Regions from separate parts of the Homo sapiens genome. Here region 1 is linked to region 2. Evidence: promoter capture Hi-C in human tissues and cell types (Jung and others, 2019). All regions are on one chromosome and are shown on one strand. Each heading gives the region's core, a stretch centred on a gene start or on the middle of the fragment in contact. The rest is flanking DNA. Distances are from core to core; before and after follow the strand shown.

What was found. The method cuts DNA at HindIII sites, captures the fragments that hold promoters and counts their contacts. A contact is called where the count stands out against the background at its distance.
Region 1: a contact is called between a fragment that was not itself captured here and the fragment with the promoter of KCNRG in region 2, in 1 of the 25 tissues and cell types used here (hippocampus).

What each region holds. Positions count from the first base shown.
Region 1 is chr13:50,486,178-50,492,126 of GRCh38, reverse strand. The region is part of intron 4 of DLEU1 (deleted in lymphocytic leukemia 1); the gene reads right to left. Among named protein-coding and RNA genes, the nearest start is that of DLEU1-AS1, 38 kb to the left of the region's middle. The HindIII fragment of the contact is 5,039 bases long and covers 1-4,802 here.
Region 2 is chr13:50,013,922-50,019,606 of GRCh38, reverse strand. It overlaps KCNRG (potassium channel regulator), which reads right to left and starts at 4,163. Exons shown (of 2, transcript NM_173605.2): 1 at 3,536-4,163. The coding sequence starts at 4,113. It overlaps TRIM13 (tripartite motif containing 13), which reads right to left. Exons shown (of 2, transcript NM_213590.3): 2 at 1,140-5,685. The region is part of intron 10 of DLEU2 (deleted in lymphocytic leukemia 2); the gene reads left to right. The HindIII fragment of the contact is 16,932 bases long and covers 1,584-5,685 here.

The sequences.
Region 1 (5,949 bases), core at 1,034-3,533, 470 kb before region 2:
GCCCTCTGTTGGGTTTCAAAGTACCTTGAGTCTACACCTATTTACCAGTTTATGGTTCTCTGATACAGAGCTTCTGAATTGGAAGAACCACGTCATTGTCCATTTGCATTTAGAGCATCTGGCCCAGGATCTGGCACATAGAACATGCTAAAATATGGTTTTTGGATTAAAGTACATCCAGATATCTCCTTACTGCCCCCGCCAGCATCCTTATGAATGGACTCCATACTTTTTAAAGTAAAAAATACAGAAAAAGGTCTCCAGAGACACACAGTGCCTGCCTAAAAACAAGCTTCATGAAAAGAATGAAGAATGGACTCCTGACCCCACGCCACCACTCTAACAAGCATTAAGTAACAAGTAACAGTTAGTAATGGTGGAAGAATTAAATGAGTATGGAAAGAGACCATCTCTAAGGCATAGTGTAAAATAAAGACCTAAAGCTGAGAATGGATATTAAGAAAAAGCCTTCTGGCGAACCAGCCTCCACCCAACACACAAAGTGTCACTACAGGAATTTGAAGTCTGTAGTACACTGTAGTTAACCAGAGCAACAGCAATCTCTATTCCAATTAAATCCCTAAGTAGATTGGTTCAATAATCCACATTAGAGTCCTAGCAGAAGGAAATGTGCTCATTTCCAGGAATAAAAATCATTTACCTGGCCATCACGGTGGCTCACACCTGTAATCCCGGCATTTTGGGAGGCCGAGGCGGGCGGATCACCTGAGGTCAGGAGTTTGAGACTAGCCTAGCCAACATGGCAAAACCTTGCCTCTACTAGAAATAATAATTTTAAAAAATTAGCCGGGTGTGGCAGCGCACACCTGTAATCCCAGCTACTTGGAAGGGTGAAGCAGGAGAATCACTTGAACCTGGGAGGTGGAGGTTGCAGTGAGCCTGGATTGTGCCACTGCACTCCAGCCTGGGTGACAAAGTAAGACTCTGTCTCAAAAAAAAAAAAAAATCACTTACTTTAGTATATATTGTCCTACAGAAAGTATACAGCTTTCAACCAAAAAAGTACAAAGCATACAAAAATAAAGCAAGAAAAACAACACAGTGGCATGAGTAAATCGACAGAAGCAGACTCAGATATAATACAAATATCAAAACCATAAATAGGAAATTCAAAATAACTATAATTAATATGTTGAAAGTTCTAATGGGAAAAGGAGACAACACACAGGATCAGATAAGTAATTTCAGCAGAGAGAGAGAGTACTAAGGAAGATTTAAGTAGGAATGCTACAAATAATAATAATAAAAAAGTAACAGATATGAAGAATGCCTTTGAGTGTATCATCAATACATTTGACTAGTCAAAGAAAGAATCAGTAAGCCTCATATAGGTCAATATAAGTTATTTGAATTAAAAGAAAAACAAGAATGAAAAAAGTAGAATAGAATATCAAAGGAATGTAGAACAATGACATATACCTAAGATGTGTTTAATTGAAATTCTACAAGAAGAGAGAGGGAATAGGGCAGAATAAACATTTGAACATATAATAACCAAGATTTTTCCAAAATTAACATTAGACACCAAACCACAGATCCAAGAAACACAAAGAACACCAGTGAGGATACACACAATACAAACAAACAAATTAAAAAACAAACCTGAGATATGTCTTATCCAAATGATAAAAAACAAAGAGAGGAGAAAGAGAAAATTTCTGAAGGCAGCCAAAAATAAAAGACATTAATATTGATATAAATAAATAACGGGGAAGAAGAGACAAGTCTCACTTGTAGAAGATCCTAAATGATTTATGTAGTTACTCTACCCTTAAGGAGAATAAACCTAACTCCCCATTGTTTAATCATGGGCTGTTTATATGGACTTCCTTCCAAAGATTTCAAAAGTAAAAGAGAGAGGAGTAATTTTACAGTGGAGAAATCTGACAAATACTATCTTAGCCACGTGATCAAGGTCAACATCAAGAGTGAAAAGTTATGTTAACAGTAAGTCTCCTTAATATGATTATTACAAAAATGGCACTTTACCTCTGTGGTCTTCCTCCCCAAAAACCCATAACCCCAGTCGAATCTTGAGAAAATCATCAGACAAATCCAAATTGAGGGACATTCTACAAAACACATGACCAGTACTCCTCAATCTATCATAGTCATCAAAAATAAAGAAATCCTGAAAAACTGTCGCAGCCTAGAGGAGTTAAGGAGACATGATCACAACATAATGTGGTAGATGGGATCCTAGAGCACAAAAATGCCATTAGGTAAAAACTAAGGAAATCTGAATAAAGTACAGACTTTAGTTAATAATAATTTTTCAATATTGGGTCAGATGTACCATACTAACATAAGATATTAATAATGGGTAAACCGGATATGAGATATACTGGAACTCTCTGTACTACTGTTGCAGTTTCTCTGTAAACCTAAAACTCTTCTAAAAATAAAATTTATTAAAACAAAACTAAACTAAAGATACATTCTATACAGAGGAACAAAAATAAGAACAAACTTCTCGTGGGAAATCATGTAAGCCAGGAGAAAATGGAGTGACATCATTAAGATTTTTTAAAAACTGTCAGCCAGAGTTCTGTACCCAGGAAAACATCTTTTAAAACTAAAGGTGAAATAAAATCTTTCTCGAAAAGAAAAATGGAGAATTAATTGGTAATAGGCCTGCATTATAAGAAATGTTTGAGAAGGCTATCCAGGTAGAAGTAATATAGCACCAGAGAGAAAGTTGGATCTGCACAAACAAATAAAGAGTTGTGGGAAAGGAAATAAATAAAGATTTAAAAATGCATTTTCTTACTCCTAAGTGCCTAAATGATAATTGATTATGCAAAGAAAAAAAATAGTAGCAATATACTATGTGCTTGCAGCATATGTAAAATTAAATGTATAGCATAAAGTAAAAGATGAAGGAATTTGAATATACTGTTGCAAGGTCCATACACTACATGTGAAGTGATTTAATATTATTTGAAGGTAAACTCAGATTAATTAAAGATAAATATTGTAACTCTAGGGCAACCACTAAAAGTAAAAATATAAAAGAGGTATAAATAATAAGCCAATAGTATTTTCAAGAGCTATCTGCATTTCCATATTCACTGCAGCATTATTCACAATCACCGAGGCATCAAAGCAACAACCTAAATGTCCACTGACTCCTAAATGGATAAAGAAAATGTAATATATACATACAAGGGAATATTATTCATCCTTAAAAAAGAAGAAAATCCTGCCTCTTACAGCAACATGGATGAACCTGGGATACATTATGCTAAGTAAAATAAGCCAGACACAGAAGGACAAATACTACATGATATTACTTATGTAATGAATCTAAAGTAGTCAAACTCATAGAAGCAGAGAATAGAAGGATAGTGGTCAGAGATTGTGGGGAGGGAGAAATGGAAGGTATGAGTCAAAGTGTACAAAGTTTTGATTATATAAAATGGATAATCTTAGAGATCTACTGTAAAGCACAGGGACTGTAATTACCAATAATATATTGTATCCTTAAAATTTTGCTTTAAAAGCAGATCTAATGTTGAGTGCTTTTATCACAAATAATAATAATAATTATTATTATAATAAAGAAAGAAAGCAGGAGGAAATTTTTGGAAGTGAAGTATAGGTTTATGGCATGATTTATGGTGAAGTATAGGTTTATGGTGATGATTTGATGAGTGCATACTTATCTCCTAACTCATCAAGTTGTATAAATTAAATAAGGACAGATTTTGTATGTCAATTATACTTCAATAAGATGGTTTAAAAATATAATAATTAAAGCCAAAAATTGGAAATAGTACAAATTTCCTTCCATGGGTGAATGGATAAACAAACTGATACATCCATACAATGGAATACTCTTTTACAATAAAAAGAAGTAAATTACTCATGCATGAAACAATACGAATGAATCTCAAATGCATTTTGCTAATGAAATAGGTCAGACTCAAGAGACTACATGCTATAGTTTCCCTTTATATGTTATTCAAAACAAGACAAAACTATGGGGATGGAGAACAGATCAGCAGTTAGCAGAGGCTGGAGGTAGAAAAAAGACTGATGACAACCAGGCAGCATGAGAAATTTTTTGGAAGTGATGGAACTCTTGGCATGTTGATTGTGGTAGTAGATACCTTAGTCCAAACTATACACTACATACTTATACATAATGGAGTACTATTCAGTTATAAAAAAGGATGAGATCCTGTCATTTGCAATAACATGGATGGAACTGGAGGTCACTATGTTAAATGAAATAAGCCAAGCACAGAAAGACAAACATCACACGTACTCACTTATTTCTAGGGGGTAAAAATCAAAATAATTGAACTTATGTAGAAGGATGGTTACCAGAGGCTGGGAAGGGTACTGGGATGCTGGGAGGAGGTGGGAATGGTTAATGGGTACAAAAAACAGAAAGAATGAATAATATCTTGTGTTTGATAGCACAACAGGGTGACTATAGTCAAAATAATTTAATTGTACATTTTTAAATAACTAACAGAGTATAACTGGATGGTCTGTAACACAAAGGATAAATGCTTGTGGGGATGAACACCCCACTTTCCACAATGTGATTATTATGCATTATATGCCTGTATCAAACTATCTAATGCACCCCATCAATATATACACTTACTATGTACCCACAAAAATTAAACATTAAAAAAAACTACATACCACAATGAATCAATTTTATAAAATGCAGATTTAAAAAAATGAAGCTTCTCTTATACAAAGAGAAGATAGAAATGAAGAAAAACAGTCTACCCTCTACACCTGGTCACTCTACAGAGGAGGTCTTGACACCAAGAAAAATCACTGCCCTACTAAGCAACCAAGGCCTTGGGCAAACCATTTAGCTCTGTACTTCACAAAAGCTTTCAGGAAAACAAAAATGCAAGTTAAGATATAATAATCAAATCAGATATGTCCTGACACCCCCCGCCCCTCCACTAAGCCCCTGATTATAGGCCAACACTGCAGAATGTTTGAGCAAATATAACAACTTTTTTCCCCTTCAACAAATTGAGGACTGGAAAGCCTATAAATGTGCTATTTCAGCTGTTTTTCGCAGCTTATCATGATTTTGTGAAAGTCTGGCCCCAAGACTTTGGATCCCTTCTTAATAACATTTAATGCTACCATTATGTAACTGAATCCATTTTGTCAGTGTAGTGGGAATATCATTAAACTGTAACTCATTTCACTGTCTTCTAGCTTTCAGACCCTCAAGTGCCTGAGTCCAGAACACCAGGAACTTGAAGCAGGGAGTGGTCCTAAACCTTCCCCCACCCACCACCCTCCTGGGTCGGGCTGTTTTTCACACTGTGACGTTACCCATTTTGTTATCATCAAGACCTTGTGATGGATGCTTGAGGCTCACAGAGTGCATGCCTGGAATCTGCAGGGCTCCTCCTTATCTGTCAATGCCTTAAACTTCCTGATGCTGACTGACATTCCTCATTTTGCCGAGTTTCAGTCCAGGTGCAGAGTATTTTTGGAAATGCAATCATATCAGGAGATGGTACTTTTTACATCAGTTGCCCCCTCAACATTAAGTACGTACCTGGCACCTTGCCACCTAATATGCAAGTAGCCACATTATTATGGAAACCACATGTTCATTAGCAAGGTTGGCACCAACACAACCTCCACTGTCCGAAGTTAATGTTATGTTCCATTATAGTCCAGACAACAGGACAGTGTAGGATACAGTTTGGGCATGAGAACAAGCAGTCCTGTTTGATGAAATCTGAGTCTTCAACTGTTAGAAATATGATCCAGTTTCTATCTTGACATACGTCTGCACTGATGTTTCAGAAAAGGACATGTTTTGAAAGAAAATACCATTCTTTTAGTGTTATCTTTGCAAAATTGTATTTAATTCTTTCTACCACTTTCACGGACAACCAGAATCCGCTGGCTTCTTGCTGGGCTAATCACTTC
Region 2 (5,685 bases), core at 2,914-5,413:
TTTTATATAACTATTTCCAATTTTGTTTTGAATTTGCTATTAATTAGTTGATTGAATCAAATATTTTAATGAATGCTGTGCACTTACAATTTCCCCTCCAGATCTAATCTTATCAATTATTAGCACTGACATTATGGATTTTCCTTTGCGACTTACTCCTATGAAATTTACCTTTTTTTAAGTGAAATTTTGCAGATATGAAATGTCAAGATTTTATTGTCACTTTTTACGCAATAACTCTCCATTGTCAAAGAGCACAACTTGGGGTCAAAAGCCTCTGGAGAGTGGAAAGGGCAAAATCTTCTATTCACTGAGGTGCTCCACAGAACAAATGCAGTACACAGAACCAATTCAAGAAAAATGCACATGAGGAGGCGGAGCTTGCAGTGAGCCAAGATGGCGCCATTGCACTCCAGCCTGGGTGACAGAGCGAGACTCCGTCTCAAAAAAAAAAACAAAAGAAAAAAAGAAAAAAATGCACATGAACTTTTCAGATTAGCTATCTGTTGGCTTTAATAATGTCAGCATAGGCTGGGCGTAGTGCCTCATGCCTGTAATCCCAGCATTTTGGGAAGCCGAGGCTGGTGGATCACCTGAGCTCGGGAGTTTGAGACCAGCCTGACCAACATGGTGAAACTCCGTCTCTACTAAAAATACAAAAATTAGCTAGGTGTGGTGGTGCATACCTGTAATCCCAGCTACTCGGGAGGCTGAGGCAGGAGAATCACTTGAACCCCAGAGGCGGAGGTTGTGGTGAGCCGAGATCACGCCATTGCATACCAGCCTGGGCAACAAGAGTGAAACTCCATCTCAATAATAACAATAATGTCAGCATAACACATCTGCATGGATACAGCTTTATGACTCCGTCCTTATCTGCCATCAAAAATGTTTTCATAAAGCTCTTTGTGTCCTCCCACCATTAGTTTATGAGATGTGAAGAAAAAGCTAACTTAGATTAGTTCAGGCAGAAACCTAAACTATCTGTAGTTTTAAGGGATAAAATGATGCTTGGGGACATCCCTAACCTTCTTCTAATGATCATGCTTGAAGTAGAGTGGTTTTTGTAGTTCACATTTAGAAACTCATTCTAAGCAAAGAAACCAATAGTAAAATCTAAGAATTACCAAACTACAAAGCACATCTCAAAAAAAGTTTATTATGTTTGATACAACAGATTCTCAATATTAGCAAATCATTCCACTTACCCCCAAGCGCCAGATCTTGACTGTACAGTCTAAAAACATTTGTCAAAGTGAGAAAAATGTTACAGAACATCTCATAAAAGAATTAAGATACAAATAGTATATACAGATAGTAGATTGTAACAAAGTGGAACGTACTTGCAAGACATCACCTAGCTAAAATACTTGATTCCCTATGAGGACAAACTGAAAAATAAAATATTTCAAGCACACAAAGAAAGGACAAAATAGGGGAAACCAATGGGAAATATAAAGTTTAAACTTATTTTTAACATTTAAAAGCAACTACACTTTTCCATTTGAGCCAGTTCAAAAAGGAGAAGTCAAATAAAGACTTTAGAATCCTGTGACCAACTATAATTTGAGCTTGATAACATGAATGGCATCTGAAAGATGCAAGCCAAGTATTTCTAGTACTGTGACCTTGAGAGATAATAACTGAGCAACCTGCTAGGTTAACCTTGAGGGGTAAATCATATTGATAGAACAAACTGAATAAAGTGAATGATACACCAGACAATTAGGCACCAATTAGGCTCACTTCTCCATTTTCCAAACCTACCAAAAAATATCTGAATAGACAGATAGATTCAGACCAGGGAGTGAGCAAAAAATAAAAATGATTGCTAATTAGGCAATTATATACTAAAAGTGGACCTTTTAAGGCCAGAGTTTTCATCCCAATCACCAGAGATCCCCATAATTTCACCGTATTCAGATTGGCTATCTCTACTTTTAAATTGGCACTGTCTAAAAATTCACAAACATTTATGGAATGGTAAAAATTTTGAGCTTCAAACAATTGAATACCATTTGGTGATGCAAGAAAATGCTAATTTTAAAAATAGCTTCTGATTTTGGAATTATGGAAGTCTAAATATAATGTTTTCTCACTTTAAAATGGAAAAAACTTTCGTGCTGTTTCTAAAACACAACATAAAAAGGGAAAACCATTTGGCACTGTGTACACACAGGAACATCCCAGTTTTAGTTTTTAATCATGTTTTTCAAGGAAACAATTACTTTCTCCAAATGCATGGTTTTTAAAGAGTACTTCGTATTTCCAGGACATCTTCTTTTGACCTAGTGTGTTTCTTCTTAAAAATCAATGACAGTTTTGTCTCTAGGTTTCTGACTTTTTGAAGCATGATCCCCAAAGAGGTCATAATCACTCATATTTTAAAAACCAAAAAAAATTTCATTTTTGTTAAAGTATCCCATCAATGAAAATAAAGTTGTACAGAGGTTTGAGATAAAGATAAGGTATTAGATTTTCTTCACAATCAGCCTACTAGCTTGACTGGCTCTCTTTTCCCAAAATGACATTTCAAACTCTTTTGAAGGACAGGAAGTTATAAAATGTAAACAATTAAGAATTGTCATACTCGGTTATTCTACCTAGTGTCCTCCAGTTGGTAAGCAAGACCAAGGAGTGTGTCGCTAAGAGAGAGAGACACTGGTATCCTTCCTGTTGGCTACTGCTCAAGTTAAGAAAATATCTTAAAATACGCCTACCTTTACCAAAAAAAAAAAAAAAAGTATATTTTAAATGATACCAATAAAGAACACATGCAGGCTTTTCTTTTCCTCCTAAAAATTAAAGCCAGCTTTCACAGTTGGTAAAATAATGGTAGGACAGCATTAAGACATTTTACGGGGGGAAAAATGTTTGTGACAGCAGAGTGGAAATCAGCGTTAGGATCCAGCCAAGAACAACAGAGGGAGTAAGTGAAGAATTGACTCAGGAGCAACTATCCTTAACATACTGACAGCCTATCCCAATATTTTGAGTTGTTTAAGAGCCAAGGCTGTAACAGGATACCAAATTTGCCATGAGATATATCTGTCTTTAAGGGTGTTTAAAAATAAAGTCAGCTGAAGGAAAAACAGTAGTTGAATCATAAAACTGAAAGAACAACTTATATAGTGTGTAAGGAACTCAAGAGAAACCAGTGAGCGAGCCTTTATGTGAACCACTGAAACAATCTCTTAAAAATAAGGCAATTCTTTTCTAAGTCAAATTCATTAGCAATGGAACATAATCTACAAAATTATTTTCTCCCATGATTTGAATGTCCATAGTCTCAGTTTTTTCTGGGCAGTCTTCATTTATTCCTTTTGTCCCACCTAATAATAGCCCCTTTCACTCTAAAAAGTATCCCAGTTTGGAAAATAATTATTTGGTCATTCTACCCAACTCCACTGGTTACCCCAAAACATTATTTTGAATAATCATCTTTTCCAGAAGTTACAGGCCTGAGGAACTTCAAGTTTTTAGAGAAAACATCACAAACTGGTATACAAGAGAAATACTGCAAAGTACAAAATACCTGACTCCAGTTTGGTTATCAGTAGTGCTGTCAGAACCACACTGGAAAACCAGGTCATGGTAAGAAGGTCTTTGTGGAGGCAGTGGAAGTAAGGTCATCTGAGGAGGGAAAAAGTTACCATTCCAGGTCGGCGCTGAAGGTTGTTCTGTAAACACTGTAATCCTCCCTGTTAGCATCTCAATTGTTTTGCTGCAAGAGCCAAACACCCTGAAAAAAGCTTGAGTGTTCCGGCTTAGGAAATGTACCTCCACAAGAGCAGGTCTTGGCTGTAGCAGGTATGGGTTTAAGAGATCAACTAGAGAACGAAGTTCATAGAAAAGAGCCTCTCTCTGAAGCCTAAGATAGTCTGAAAATTCAGTGGGTAATAAAAGCTGGTGAGTTCTCAAAAAATCTAAGATGAAACTAAACAAATCACCATCTCTGTCTACAAAAATCTGGCCACCAACCATCTTGAATTCTTGGTCTCTGCCATCTAACATGCGTGCCAAACGAGAAGCAGGAAACTGCTTTATCGTAGAAAACCTTGTCGTGAATATCTTCCCTCCCACATTCAAAGTGACCAGTTCCTGACTACTCATTCTTCCCTCACTTCAAACTAGAGGCTACCATCAGCCACACTTAGGAAATCAACCTATAACCATAAATGTTGCTAGTTATACATGATTATGCAGTGGAGGGGAGGGAAGAATAACAAAAACCAGACTTAGATTCCCAGGAAACTACTGTAAGGTAAATAGTGTATCCATGGCTGTGTTTGCAAATTCGAGTTGCCTGGGAACTTGCAGTATACAAAATGAAAAAGCAACAGATGAGGAACTAAATAGCTTAAGGAAAACTGCCAATATATCTGAAGATAGACATCAAATAGATCCCTTTCCTGTCTTACATTTAAAAACTTATCCATGAAAACCTAGTAAAACTATATATATATATATATATATATATATATATATATATATATATATATATATATATATTTTTTTTTTTTTTTTTTTTATTACTGGGAGGGGAAAAGCATTCTCCCTCCCCATACCTGTCTACCACGCAGAGGCTAGACTTAAACGTTTTTCTTAATTTCTTATGATCTCCTTAGAAATTTAGTGGCTAAATCATGAATTACATGTTAGGAATGAGACAGCCTGGCAAGCTCAATTTGACTATTCTCATAGCTAGAAGGAAATCATTTCTTCTGTGCTTTAAATTTAGTTGCCACCTTTTATCCTGTCCCCATTTTCATTACCTCCTCTCAACCAAATTAGAGGAGGACTGAGGTAAAGAACTCTTATTTTCAGAAAGTCTATTCCACTTAATGGGCTTTCAAGGAATATCTTACTCTATGACACAAATAAGGCAGACTAGAGAGCAGTTATAAGGTTACTTCTTTGTTATATGAATTCTAAGCAAGGTGTTTATTCCATGAGAGGGTATCTTTATCTCTTGTGAGCAGACAGAACAGCATTAGTGTTCAGCTGATTACTTTGTAATAGCTGACAGACTGTTTTATCTGTTGTCAAATTAGTCTTAACTACACTAAACATTCTTTCTGTAAGCAAGTGGATTGGTTTGGTTGTACACTTGCCATCTTTCGAACAAAACAACACATAGCTGCCAGAAAAAAGGTAGTCTTCCCATTTCCTGCTCTTGCCATGTGTTCTATATATACATATATATGTATATATATGTATGTGTACATATGTGTGTGTGTGTGTGTATATATATATATATATTTTTTTTTTTTTTTTTTTTTTTTTTTTTTTTGGTAGAGACTGGGTCTTGCTATGTTTACGAAGCTGGTTTCGAACTGGAACTCCTAGCCTCAAATAATCCTCCCACATCACTGTCCTAGAATGCTGAGATTATAGACATGAGCCACCCTGCCCAGCCAGCTGATCCTTTTTTTTAACCTATCTATGCTTTTGCTTGCATAGCCACTTAACATTTCTAGTTGATCATCTTTGGTGAAAACTACAAAAACAAAGGAGAAAAGGGCAGATTGAAAGCTCCACTCTCCTAAAAATGTAAACTTATCACAAGAAAATGCCAGGTTTTGTATGTACCATTCACATTTTGGTGATAATTAACTCTCTGTAGAAAATTTTGGAAATCTAATTAATTAGTACCTTCAATACCTTTAGTTGTCTCCCACACAC